Regions from separate parts of the Homo sapiens genome. Here region 2 is linked to region 1. Evidence: promoter capture Hi-C in 16 types of primary human blood cells and fetal thymus (Javierre and others, 2016). All regions are on one chromosome and are shown on one strand. Each heading gives the region's core, a stretch centred on a gene start or on the middle of the fragment in contact. The rest is flanking DNA. Distances are from core to core; before and after follow the strand shown.

The links. The method cuts DNA at HindIII sites, captures the fragments that hold promoters and counts their contacts. A CHiCAGO score of 5 or more calls a contact.
Region 2: a contact is called between a fragment that was not itself captured here and the fragment with the promoter of LDOC1 in region 1, in 1 of 17 cell types (total B cells). The highest score is 5.3, in total B cells.

What each region holds. Positions count from the first base shown.
Region 1 is chrX:141,175,878-141,181,672 of GRCh38, forward strand. It overlaps LDOC1 (LDOC1 regulator of NFKB signaling), which reads right to left and starts at 1,252. Exons shown (of 1, transcript NM_012317.4): 1 at 1-1,252. The coding sequence starts at 1,144. The coding sequence ends at 704. RefSeq lists an enhancer at 317-816. The HindIII fragment of the contact is 16,966 bases long and covers 1-5,795 here.
Region 2 is chrX:140,911,696-140,917,490 of GRCh38, forward strand. No RefSeq gene overlaps it. Among named protein-coding and RNA genes, the nearest start is that of MIR320D2, 12 kb to the right of the region's middle. The HindIII fragment of the contact is 1,749 bases long and covers 1,998-3,746 here.

The DNA.
Region 1 (5,795 bases), core at 2-2,501:
CTGCTGCAATTTTGAAAGAAAAATGACAGCTGTGTAAAACCAGTGCATAGGAAAAAAGAAGTGTCAACAATTTGGCTGCCAGGCACACCGCGCCCCTGCAGCAATCTGGTGGGGCAGGGGAGGACACTCGGAGTAGGTAGAAAACTAACCAGGCTGAACGGCCCCTTCAGGGGTTGGTGAGCTGTCCAAATCAATGTCTGAAAAGGCATAGCCAACTCTGGCATTTTCCAGGTTGGTCCTGATCTCGAAAGGTGGTAGTCTGTAGGTGGGATGTGGTGAGTGGATGTGAAGTGGCAGCATAGTTCTCTGGGAAGATGTAAGCCTGGCAGCAGGGCAGGTGGCAGCAGCAGGGCTACGGGTGGTCTGCGCAGTTTGTAACAGGGGCCTGGCCAATAGCTGGGGTTCAGGACACAGTTCAGATTAGCAGGGGAGGGATCCCGGGGATGGCCAGGGTAGATGACACTTCCAAGCACTTCCGAGTGAGTGAGGCTCCAGCCCCGACCCCAGCAGCAGGTAACTGGAGCGCTATTCCTGGAACAAAGACAAGCACTACGGAGAAATGAAGAGAGAGAGCAGACGGGCGCGGGTAGGTAAGGGGACCGGAGGGCAAGGGGGAGAGCAGTGGCTCCTGGCGGGGTGAGGGCTGCGGGGAGGGGGTGGCGGCGTGCAGGGCCCTCCCCCCCGAGGCCCGAGGGTCGAGGGCCTAATAATCATCCTCCTCTTCTTCGTCGTCGTCGTCTTCGTCGTCATCCCAGCCAAAGCACTGTTTCATCTCATCGAGGAAGGCCCGGTAATCACCTAGGATGGGGCTATCCATCTCGATGTAGGGCACCACCCACTCCTCGGCTTCCCCGGTGAGGAGGCTGATTAGGAATGCCACCTTCATGGCGTCGTTGCAGAATCGGTTCTCGTTCACGAGCATGTAAGACGCCGTCTGCACGATAAACTCGGGGAGCCGGGAGCTCTCGCCATTAAACGTTTCGGGGAAGGGCACCGGGCAGCTCGGCGGACGTACCTGGCGCAGCAGGCTGGCCCTCTCGCACACCAGCAGCCGCAGCTGTTCCATGAGCTGGCTGTTCTCGATGCTCAGGGCGCGGTGCCGCATCAGGAGCGCGTGCAGCAGCAGCACCAACTCATCCACCATTGCGAACGGCCTGGAAGGACAGGACTCGGCTCGGTTCGGCTCGGCCAAGGTGCGCACGGAGCCCTCGCAGGAAGTGCGTGTCCACGGAGGCGCTTGGTGGCCAGGGGCGGGGGGCGGGGGGCGGTGTGCGCCGGGGTCCGGGAGGCTACGCAAGCTCCGCCCACGAGGCCATTCGGACGGACGGTGCGCCGGCGCGACGGGGGAGGGGCGTGGCTAGGCTGGGAGTGGGGGGGCCGCGGCGGCGTGGGGGCGTGGCCGGGATGGGAAGGGTGTAGACAAAGAGGGCGTGGCCAGGAAAAGGATGCGCTGGGTCGCTGAACCACCGGCTTGTGGTAGGTCTCTCGGCGGGCAGTTAAAGGCTGGGATAGGCTCCCCTAGCTCCTAGTTGTGGGGCCTGCGTTAGCAGAGGACTTGGCGAGCGCTGAGTCCGGTCTCAGAGAAGGTAAATTTGTTCAAACTGAAAGGATTAGCCACCCTTCTACCTAGGTAGCTTGCACAACTCAGTGTTCCTTCGTGGGTCTGTGGCCACTAGATTCTCTTGGCTTGATGTTTTATTAACACATTTTCTTTCTTATTTAAATCTCACTCAGAGAAGTATTGACACTGCTGGCTGCCCTGTGGGAGTCACACTTCCTTTTAGAATCATGAAGACCCTCAGGGGGTCCTGCCTTTCATGAAAAAGGTAGTATTTAAACAGTGACTTCTTTAGTAGGGAAATAATATGGTATACACACACACACACACACACACACACACACACACACAAAACCTAAGTAACAAGATATAAAAAAGTTCTGCAAAATCAGCATCCAATAGTCAATTGCAGGCATCCCACATATCTTTGATTCTCTATTTCTTGTCTTGCTATTAGTGCCGTTGGCCACTGGGTATTATTCTGTACTTAAAAATGAACTGTTAAGATGTTTGTGTTTTTAAATAATTTTGTTTTTCTACTTTGAATGGATCCCTGATTCTAGAGCCAACATGAATTGTTGGCTCTGCTTTCAAATATATTGCCAATTCAATCACGTCTTGTCATTTCTGCCACTGCCACCCTGATTCCTAGCCTTTCTTTCTCACCCAGACTGCTGCAACTAATCACTTAGCTTTCACTCTTTTCTTCCTATAGTATATTCTCCATAGAGTAGCCACGGGAATCCTTTAAAACAAAAATTAGGGCCGGGCGCGGTGGCTCACGCCTGTAATCCCAGCACTTTGGGAGGCCGAGGCGGGCGGATCACGAGGTCAGGAGATCGAGACCATCCTGGCTAACAGGGTGAAACCCGTCTCTACTAAAAATACAAAAAATTAGCTGGGCGTGGTGGCGCATGCCCGTAATCCCAGCTACTCGGGAGGCTGAGGCAGGGGAATTGCTTGAACCCTGGAGGCAGAGGTTGCAGTGAGCCGAGATAGCGCCACTGCACTCCAGCCTGGGCTACAGAGCGAGACTCCGTTTCAAAAGAAAAAAAAAAAGATCCCTTCACTCTCCTGCTCAAAATCCTCCAACAGTTTCACCTGAGAATAAAGAGCAAAGTTGCAGCCAAGGCCTACAAGGCCCCTCCTTCTATCCTGTGCCTCTTCCCAGTTTCTGCTGTGCTCTAATCACTGTCCTCCTTGCTGATTCTCACACCCATCAAGCAGTTCTGGCTTCATAGCCTTTGCATCTTCTATTCCTTCTGCCTTGCAAGGCTGTCATCCCAGTTGGCTGCCTGACTCCTCCTACTGCTTTCAGAGAGAACTTTTCTGACCACCGGACCTATCAGAGCACCCTGTTCTCTGCCCCCAATCTGTAACCCTTTACTCTGCTTCATTTATCTACATAACATTTATTGTGCTACCGGCCACCATGTCGTATGTATATACAGTACTTTGCTCATCATCTGCTTCCATTTTAGAATATATAAGTCAAACACTGCTTTTGCTATCTGGTCTATCCCTAATGCCTAGAAAAGTTCTGGCCCAGAGTAGAGGCTTCATTAATGTTTGGCGAGTAAAATCATCCCAGAGTGAAGATGCTGAGATGAAAATCAGAAGTTGTCGCTGCACAAAGAGTCAAAAAATACTCTTCAAATTGTTAAATGTAAGGTTGGGCGTGGTGGCTCATGCCTGTAATCCCAGCACTTTGGGAGGCTGAGGGGGGCAGACCACCTGAGGTCAGGAGTTAAGACCAGGCTGACCAACATGGAGAAACCCTGTCTTTCCAAAAAATACAAAATTAGCCAGGTGTGGTGGTGGGCGCCTGTAATCCCAGCTACTTGGGAGGCTGAGGCAGGAGAATCACTTGAACCTGGGAGGCAGAGGTTGCCTGAGCCGAGATCACGCCATTGTGCTCCAGCCTGGGCAATAAGAGCAAAACACCATCTCAAAAAGAAAAAAAAAAAAGAAAAAAAATTGTTCAGTGTATTTTATCTCTGACCATGGATCAGTCTCGATTGTGAAACAATGACTGATGTAATAAAACTGGCTGAATAGATTTTTAAAGAAATTCGATTCGGTCCTTTAGGATAGAATTGAATGATCATCCATGGAAGTAGGAGGCTGGGAAAGAGCAGAGAAACAGGGCCAAGCCCCAAGCAGGGACACGGGGAAGATCACAGTGGTGAAAGGATAAGCAGTGAAAAAAAGAGATAGGAGGAATGTGAGCTTTTGGCCTCTCCTGTGCTATGAGCTCCGCCACCTGAGAAGTTGGCAGGCAGGGATCCACTCTCACTCTTAATTTTATCTTCAGCACCTGGCAGTGTTTACTAGCTGCTCCGTAAACATTCAGTGTAAGGATTGAGGGGAGGGATGTGAAATGTGGAAAGTAGGTCTCTGGCCATCATGCCCATTTACAGTTCAGAGTACAGGATGGGCCTGACTGGGACAGAGGTAGTGTCCAGCTTCACCTTTCATATCCAGGCCCTAATACAGGAAGAGTACTCAGGGTTCGACTCCTGGGAGCACACTTTCTTTCTTTCTTTTTCTTTTTTTTAGACAGAGTTTTGCTCGTGTTGCCCAGGCTGGAGTGCAATGGCACAATCTCGACTCACTGCAACCTCCGCCTCCCGGGTTCAAGCGATTCTCCTGCTTCAGCCTCCCGAGTAGCTGGGATTACAGGCATGCGCCACCACGCCCAGCTAATTTTATATTTTTAGTAGAGACAGGGTTTTTCCATGTTGGTCAGGCTGGTCTCAAACTCCTGACCTCAGGTGATCCACCCGCCTCGGCCTTCCAAAATGCTGGGATTACAGGCGTGAGCCACCGCGCCCGGCCTAGAGCACACTTTCTGTAGCAGACACTGGGCCAGGTGATTGGCAGGGCTGTCACAATGACTCATACACAAGGACCAGACATGGGAATGGGCATTTTAGAGCCAGAGACCCAGGAGGTAAATATCTAAACCTAATAAAGCAATAGGTTGATGGTGCTATACCTTCATGCCAACCTCTCTAACTCTAAAGCCCGCCCATGCCCTTGCTCTGAATAATTAATATGTGCTGGACCCTTGTGACTTCAGTGGGCCCAGGCAGGTCTAGTGGGGAACCAGAGATGATTAGGCAGATGCTGCCCTAATTTTCTCCCTACAACCCCACAGCAGAGGGATTCAGGGAGGAAACCAGACGAGGCAACCACTATTGTTCCCTCTGAGTGTGCTCTGAGACCCTGGAAGACAGGAAATGTCCTGCCCAGAACTGAGCAGTGACTTTGGGAGGTGCTTCCCTGGTTGGAGAAAGGGAATGGAGACAAGCAGCTTAGCACTGACTCACAACAGAAGCAGTCAGGAAGAGGTATGTAGTATCAGTTGATAGAAGATGTAGAATCTTAATGCTCATTTTAACCAGCTTCCAGGTGCCTGTGAGGCTCTCCCACCAGTGCCAATGCATATCAGCACTTCCTTCTCCATTCACCCTGCTCACAGCTGCATGTCGCCTTCCTCATTTTCTTTCCCCTTCTCGAGTGGCCCTTAAGTGTTCCTTTCCACTTAACGTGAATATGCTGGGGGCAGACACAAGTACTCCCTGTGACAAGTACTCATAGGGAGTACTTGTCTCGGGCCAGTAAAATTTATCAGGACAGCTCTGGGTTGGAACGCCCTAAGGGTGGCTTAGACTCCACCGTTTGGCAAGAGCACAAGTCCAAGGCACTCACTACCACCATGTTTCAGGCTCCAAACCGTGCCCTGGTACACATCAAGCATCCAGACTGTAAAATTCTCTTGAACATGAAAATTTCCCATGATTCTTGAGCCACCAGATGAGTGTGCACACATCGACTGGGTGAACTAACTCAGCACTCAAATATACAGCCAGGAACAGAAACAGCTTCGGAAAGAATATTTGTGAGAGGACTGCATGAATGCTGCCAAGAGCCAGATCTCTTCCCACATAGACTTCCCCCATCCCCCTTCTTAGCCAGGTGCACCTGGGACTGCTTTTTACAGAAACCTCACTTGGAGGGCAATAGAGACCTCTGGCCCGGAGAGAGGAATGAAGAGGCACAACTTCCTCCCTCCTGTCTTTGCCCTCTCCAGCTTACTAAAGTGCTGGAAACATTTTTACATGTTTATTAATGTACTAAATTGATGTATTCTTATGGTTGAAATACCTTAAATAATATTGATGTCTTAAAATAAAAAAGGAACATTCTTAAGACCTCTCCTTCTCACAAAATA
Region 2 (5,795 bases), core at 1,622-4,121, 260 kb before region 1:
TTGTTTTTGTGTGTGTTATCCAGCATATTTTCAAACTTGAATGGCATACCAAGAAGCCTCGAAATAATAATTTACCTCTTTTCCTTTGTGCATATAGCAAATATTTCTTACTAAGTTGAACACGGAATGTGTAAACTGGAAAATTACACGATAGCAAAATTTAAGTTGAAGAATTAGATGCACTTAAATTACTTAAAGGAATGACCTGGCTAGCAGTTGTTATTAAAGTTGCAGTTCTATTCAACATGGAATATGCTTAATAAAGTCAATATCTCTTTTTAGAAGCATTTTAATTTGCTTTTTTTTTTCTACCTTGAGTAGCTCTGAATCCTCACAGGAAGAAACATTAGGTACTATACATTGCCTCATAAGTCAAGTAGTTACTGTTTGTTGCATTGGTTGAAAATAATGCGGGATTTTCAAGCCAGAATTTAATCAATGTTACCAGGTAATTGTTCTTGTGAGAAAAGGATAAAAAGGATTTTGACTATTTGGGATAAGTTCAAAAAATAATTAAATGGGAAAGAATGACTAGTTACAAGAGTATATAACAATGGTGTCTCAAGCCAGTGTCTATATTTTAGGCAGAATATTAACATGGAATGGCCTCCACCTTGAGCAACTGGGGACCTTCTCAGTGAGAAGAGAGACGGATTGATCAAGAACCATATAGAGGCCTAATAGCCATTGTTCTGGACAGGGAATCTGGGCACCTGAATTTGACTCCCAGTTTCACTCACTTACTGCCTTGCCTAATCATAGACAGGTCACTTATGCTCTTGGAATCTCTATTTCCCCTGGAAATGATTAATACATTGAGTATCATGGGAAATAATAGATATGTGAAAACACCTAGCTCAAATAAAAGCAGGAATCTGAAGGCACTTTGGAAGTCACAAGGTTGTATTACTATCATTACCATCTTTCATGCAGCTGTTTATTACCTACAAAGCACTTTGAGATAATTATCTCCTTTCATATCTAAAACTTCAGCTTATTGTCACATTTTCACATTTTTTCCCTCATGGCTATCCTGAAGGAAGGTATAAGCAAAGAATAATTTGGCTGTTATCTCAAACCTCTTGAGTTTCCTGTTTGTTTTCCTTTGACAGAGAGATAAAGTTTGTTTGTGGTTATTGCAGACATGCCAATTTGATCACTAACTTAGTTGGTCATTAATTTCCATTGTCTGCCAACCACAACTTTTATTAAAACTCACTGCTTTATGCTTTATCTATCTTTAGGGACATTCTGATATTTCTTTCTTAGTGCTGAGAGAGAAGCACTTGACCTTTTAATATGTCCAATATCATACTTGCTACTCTCTGGGAATTTCATAAATGTATGCAACATCATCTCTATTTTTATTAGTAAGAGTCTTCTGTGTGTCGCTGTCTTCTCTGAGGTCATGAATAATCTACATTATATATCCTCTTCCTACAATGACCCTGTTACGCTGCCACGGCCAGGATATACTTTATGCCTTATCTGGCCTTTCTAAATCCTCAAAGGTTTGCTCACATTTATATTACCAAAATTATTCTCACACTAAAATGCTAACACCATGTCCATATCTAATCCGTGACTAAATTGTACTGTTATTGCGAATGTGCCTGGCATCTGCAATCGCTGATACAGTTTAAAAAAATATGACTATCACTTTGCTCCCAATAACAATTTTAGATCTTCTGCAAGGCACATAGCTTTTCTCTATCTGCATGCTAATTATTCAATAAATCAATTTTTTGCCTCCTAAAGTAGTTTGCTTAACAGGAGCAACGTATCATATTTCCATATAAAGTGCTTATAAAAATAAGATGGAATGGAGTGTTTCCAGAGGAGAATGATTATGAGGTTGAGCTTTTCATAGCTACATTATTAATTTATAAAATTATTTCAATATATTTCAAATTGTTAACATTGCACTGAAAGTGTTGTCAGCTACTGGCTGGAACTTGACATAAAATGTCTCATTCATAAAGCAATTTCGTCTCACAAGCTTTTGTTAAAATGGTCATTTATTAAACTCAGAAAAGGGAGATATCTTTTCAGTGTATTCTTTCTTCTTATGTATTTCTTTTGACTGTGTGTCCGTAGATTCAGAAATGTTTTCTCGATGACATGGCATTCTATATTTATTTGCAACAGAGTAAATAATCACCATTTTTGAAGAAAAATAAACTAGCTTGTCTGATTTGGATCTTAAATACAAAGCTCATCAGAAAATGAATTGTTTTCTTTTGCAAGAGCAACAACCAGTCAATCACTTACCGGACCTTTACTGAGCACTCCAGTATTAAAGAGAATATGCTAGGTGCTGGGCTCTATGGGAGACGCAACAAAGTGTGAGATATGGCATATCATAGGCACAAATCTATCTCTATGGGTCTCAGAAATGATTCATAACAAGGATTTATTTTATCATACTTCAATATTCCTTAAGTACCATATCTAAATCATTTTATTTCTGACACCCCATTCCCTTCTGTACATGTGCTTATCTAATATTTGTGCTTCAAGTGCTTTATGTTGAAACAGCTGTTACACAATTTTGCAAAAAGCAAACTGGCTTTAATAAAATCAATTGTTTCTGTGTGATAGAATGAACTTTAAAACTGGGGTAAACACTCAGTCCAACAATGATTTGTAAAGTAGTAGTGTTTTGCATCCAAGTCAATAATTTAGCTCATCCTTAGCTCTAGAAAGGACTGAGGGTCACCTGAGGGTTTGGCAAATCTTTGGTGGTAAGAGTTGGAATGAGAGTCTCAAGGTGAGGGACAATATAGTACATAAAAGCCAAGAGGTAGACATGCTGCTGGGAGAGAAAGAGGCTCATTATGTATAGTAGGAGGAAGATAAATTTTTAGTCAGATGATTGGGGACCTAGTCAGCTGGATTCATTTACTAACACTCTTAAAATTGGAAATTTGTACTTTGAAAATCTTATTTTTCTCTCTATTTGTGTTTTATGTCAATTTAATTTTTATATCCTCATAGCATGCATTAAAACTCTTGAATAAATGCTACCCTGCTCAGCTCTACAAAATGGATTCTTGTCAAAACCCACAGTGGAGTTTTAGTGAGTGAGCCTGGAATGATAGTGACAGTAAGAACCAGAGGGACTGACCCTTGTTAGGAAAATAAAACATGAAGGAACAAAGAAGTTAGTTAGAAGCTGACAGTAGATTCATCCCTTTCATCCTGGAGACTGGGGCACCTTGCTTTGAAATTCAGGGGCATGTGTGTGCTTTGTTTCAAAATGAAGGCCATCTCTTACTTGTGGTAAGGTGTTCTTGGGCTCGGAGCCCAACTTATCTCATTTACTAGGCTCTAGCCTGCACAGGAAAGCTGAGGTTAGATACCAATTACACTTTGGGGACAAAGTGGAGCAAAGATCTGCATATGGTTCATACATTCATTTTTCGTGTAACAACCAAGAAATGTGCCCTTGACTGAGAACAGCACTACTAATAGCCTGCTAGGGAGTTCCAGAATCACTTACCATACACTTAATTTAACAGATATTTATCAAATGTCAGTTCTATGTCAGAACCTTTGCGGGGAACTACAGACCAGGATGAAACAACATCCTTTCAAGGTTGTCAGCGCAAACCTCTATTAAAATACATGTATTATTTGGGATGAAGAATATGTTTCCTATTAACTTACAGCATCTTAACATAAATGAGGTGATTAGTGCCTGGATAAAGCTGTGCCTCAATCAAATAATATATAAAATAAGGAAAAGCTTGTTTGATTAGCTGTGTGTGTGTGTGTGGTGGAGTGGTAGGGTAGGTGGCAGAGAGAATGATATAATCCTGAAGCAGGACCAGCTACATAATTTTTGACGCTTGGTGCAAAATGAAAATTCAGGGTCCCTTGTTCAAGAATCAGAAAAAAGTGATGTTAAAGGTACGAAACTATGAAACTTCTCCCTTTAGAAATATTTTATTACTTATGAAACTTAATAGGGGTAATAGTGACACATGAGTAATGGCATAATCTTTAGAAATGCAAAGAATAATATTTGTTTCATAATTTTATAAATCAGTGCCATAATTTTATATATACAGTGAATAATGACATTTCATTAATGTGACATCTTGATTGAGCACAAGATTCTTCTGGCTCACTTTTCTGCAAATTAATTTATAATATCACCAAAACGTATACTTACAGCAACCTTGTTTTTAGTCAATATAATTGAAAGTACCATCAGTTACTGGTGACAAATGTAAGATTGCAAATCCCCTTTGATATGTTTTAATATTGAGAAGGATTTTTCTGCTCATGCAACTGTAACTGATGCTGTCAAGAGTATTTCTAGAGAAGGACAACATTGGGGTAAGGTTTTAACAAATTATTTTAAAATATAAATTTTATTACATCTAGAGCTGATGATTCTCATGAAACAATTTTTCTAAAAAGATATAACTCTTCATACAAGTCAGTTTCATGTAAGTCAGAATTTAACTTTAAATGTAAATGTAAACAATGGTATTTTAATGTTTATTTGACATTTCCTGCAACTCGTGGAGGTTATATAATTAACCAAAAGTGACTTCATCATTTATAAACCATTCAAAATGCTTGTTTATGCATTCCACCACTCTATCTTCAATTACAAGGAAATGTTAATTTTCAAATTGTCTTCATCTTTAATATTTGGTTCATCCGAAGCTTTATATGAAAATATTTATTTTCTGTTGAATAGGATAATCTTTAAAATTAATTCTTTTCTAAGCCTGTGGATATTTCCTTTGCAAGGCTGCAACAGGTTTCAAACCCAGAAATTCTAAACTCTTTGAAAACTCCAAATAACTCTCTGATATGTTTATTGCAATGTACAATGCATTTTATACTTGTTTTATAGTAATTTGCTGACAAACTTTATTGCCTAAAAACAGGCAGTTACCTGTCCCAAAATTCAAGTCAGAGAGTAGCTATTCGTGTAGATGGCAGAGGGATGGGCTTTGGGGATGGACAGGTAAGTGAATGTCCACCTTGGTCCCAGTGCTGGCCCCATATGGAGCACCCCCTCTTTTTTGGGGCTGCAGCCACTGCCATGACAACTGTAGCTTCTGCTGTTTCCACCACTATTGACTCCACCAGTCTTGACCTAGATCCTGGCCACAGCTATTCTTTCAAGAACCTGCAGTACCCTGGACTACCCTGGGTGTGCATAGTGCATTGCATGAACTGCTATGTGCATACTACCACCTGGCATATGTTGTGTGTTAACACAAATGTTCTGTTGTCCCATTAGATTTCACTTACAAACCACAAAATCAAAGATAAAATTATTCACAATTTCAAGACAATGACAGCAGGGCTTTAAACCAAGCACAGGGCCCTTCTGAGAGTGAGGCCTTGAGGAAATAGGAAGAAAACTACCTCTCATTCTGATTACTTTGTAACAGAGAACAAACCCCACAATAATACTTCTTCGAAATATCCTGCCACAAGTAGATGAACAAGATTGCTTCCACCCACAAAAACCTCCTTAATGTTTTGCATTGAATACTAGTTTTCCTCCTCAGTCATATTATTTTTGCTTGAGTTTTTTGCTTCTTTTCCTCCTGCTGATGGAGCTCATTCCAGTTAGTCCTTTGCTATTTTTTTCTAAAAATTTAGTTACAGTGACACTGAGAATATTTGCAGAATGTTGCAGAATGTTCACGTAAGCATGTGTATATGTGTTTTCGGATGTGTAAAGGAGGAAGGAGAGAGAGAGAGAGAGAGAATGAATTTTATCTCTACAGAGGCAGGGAGACCTGACTCACCTCTTACTAGAT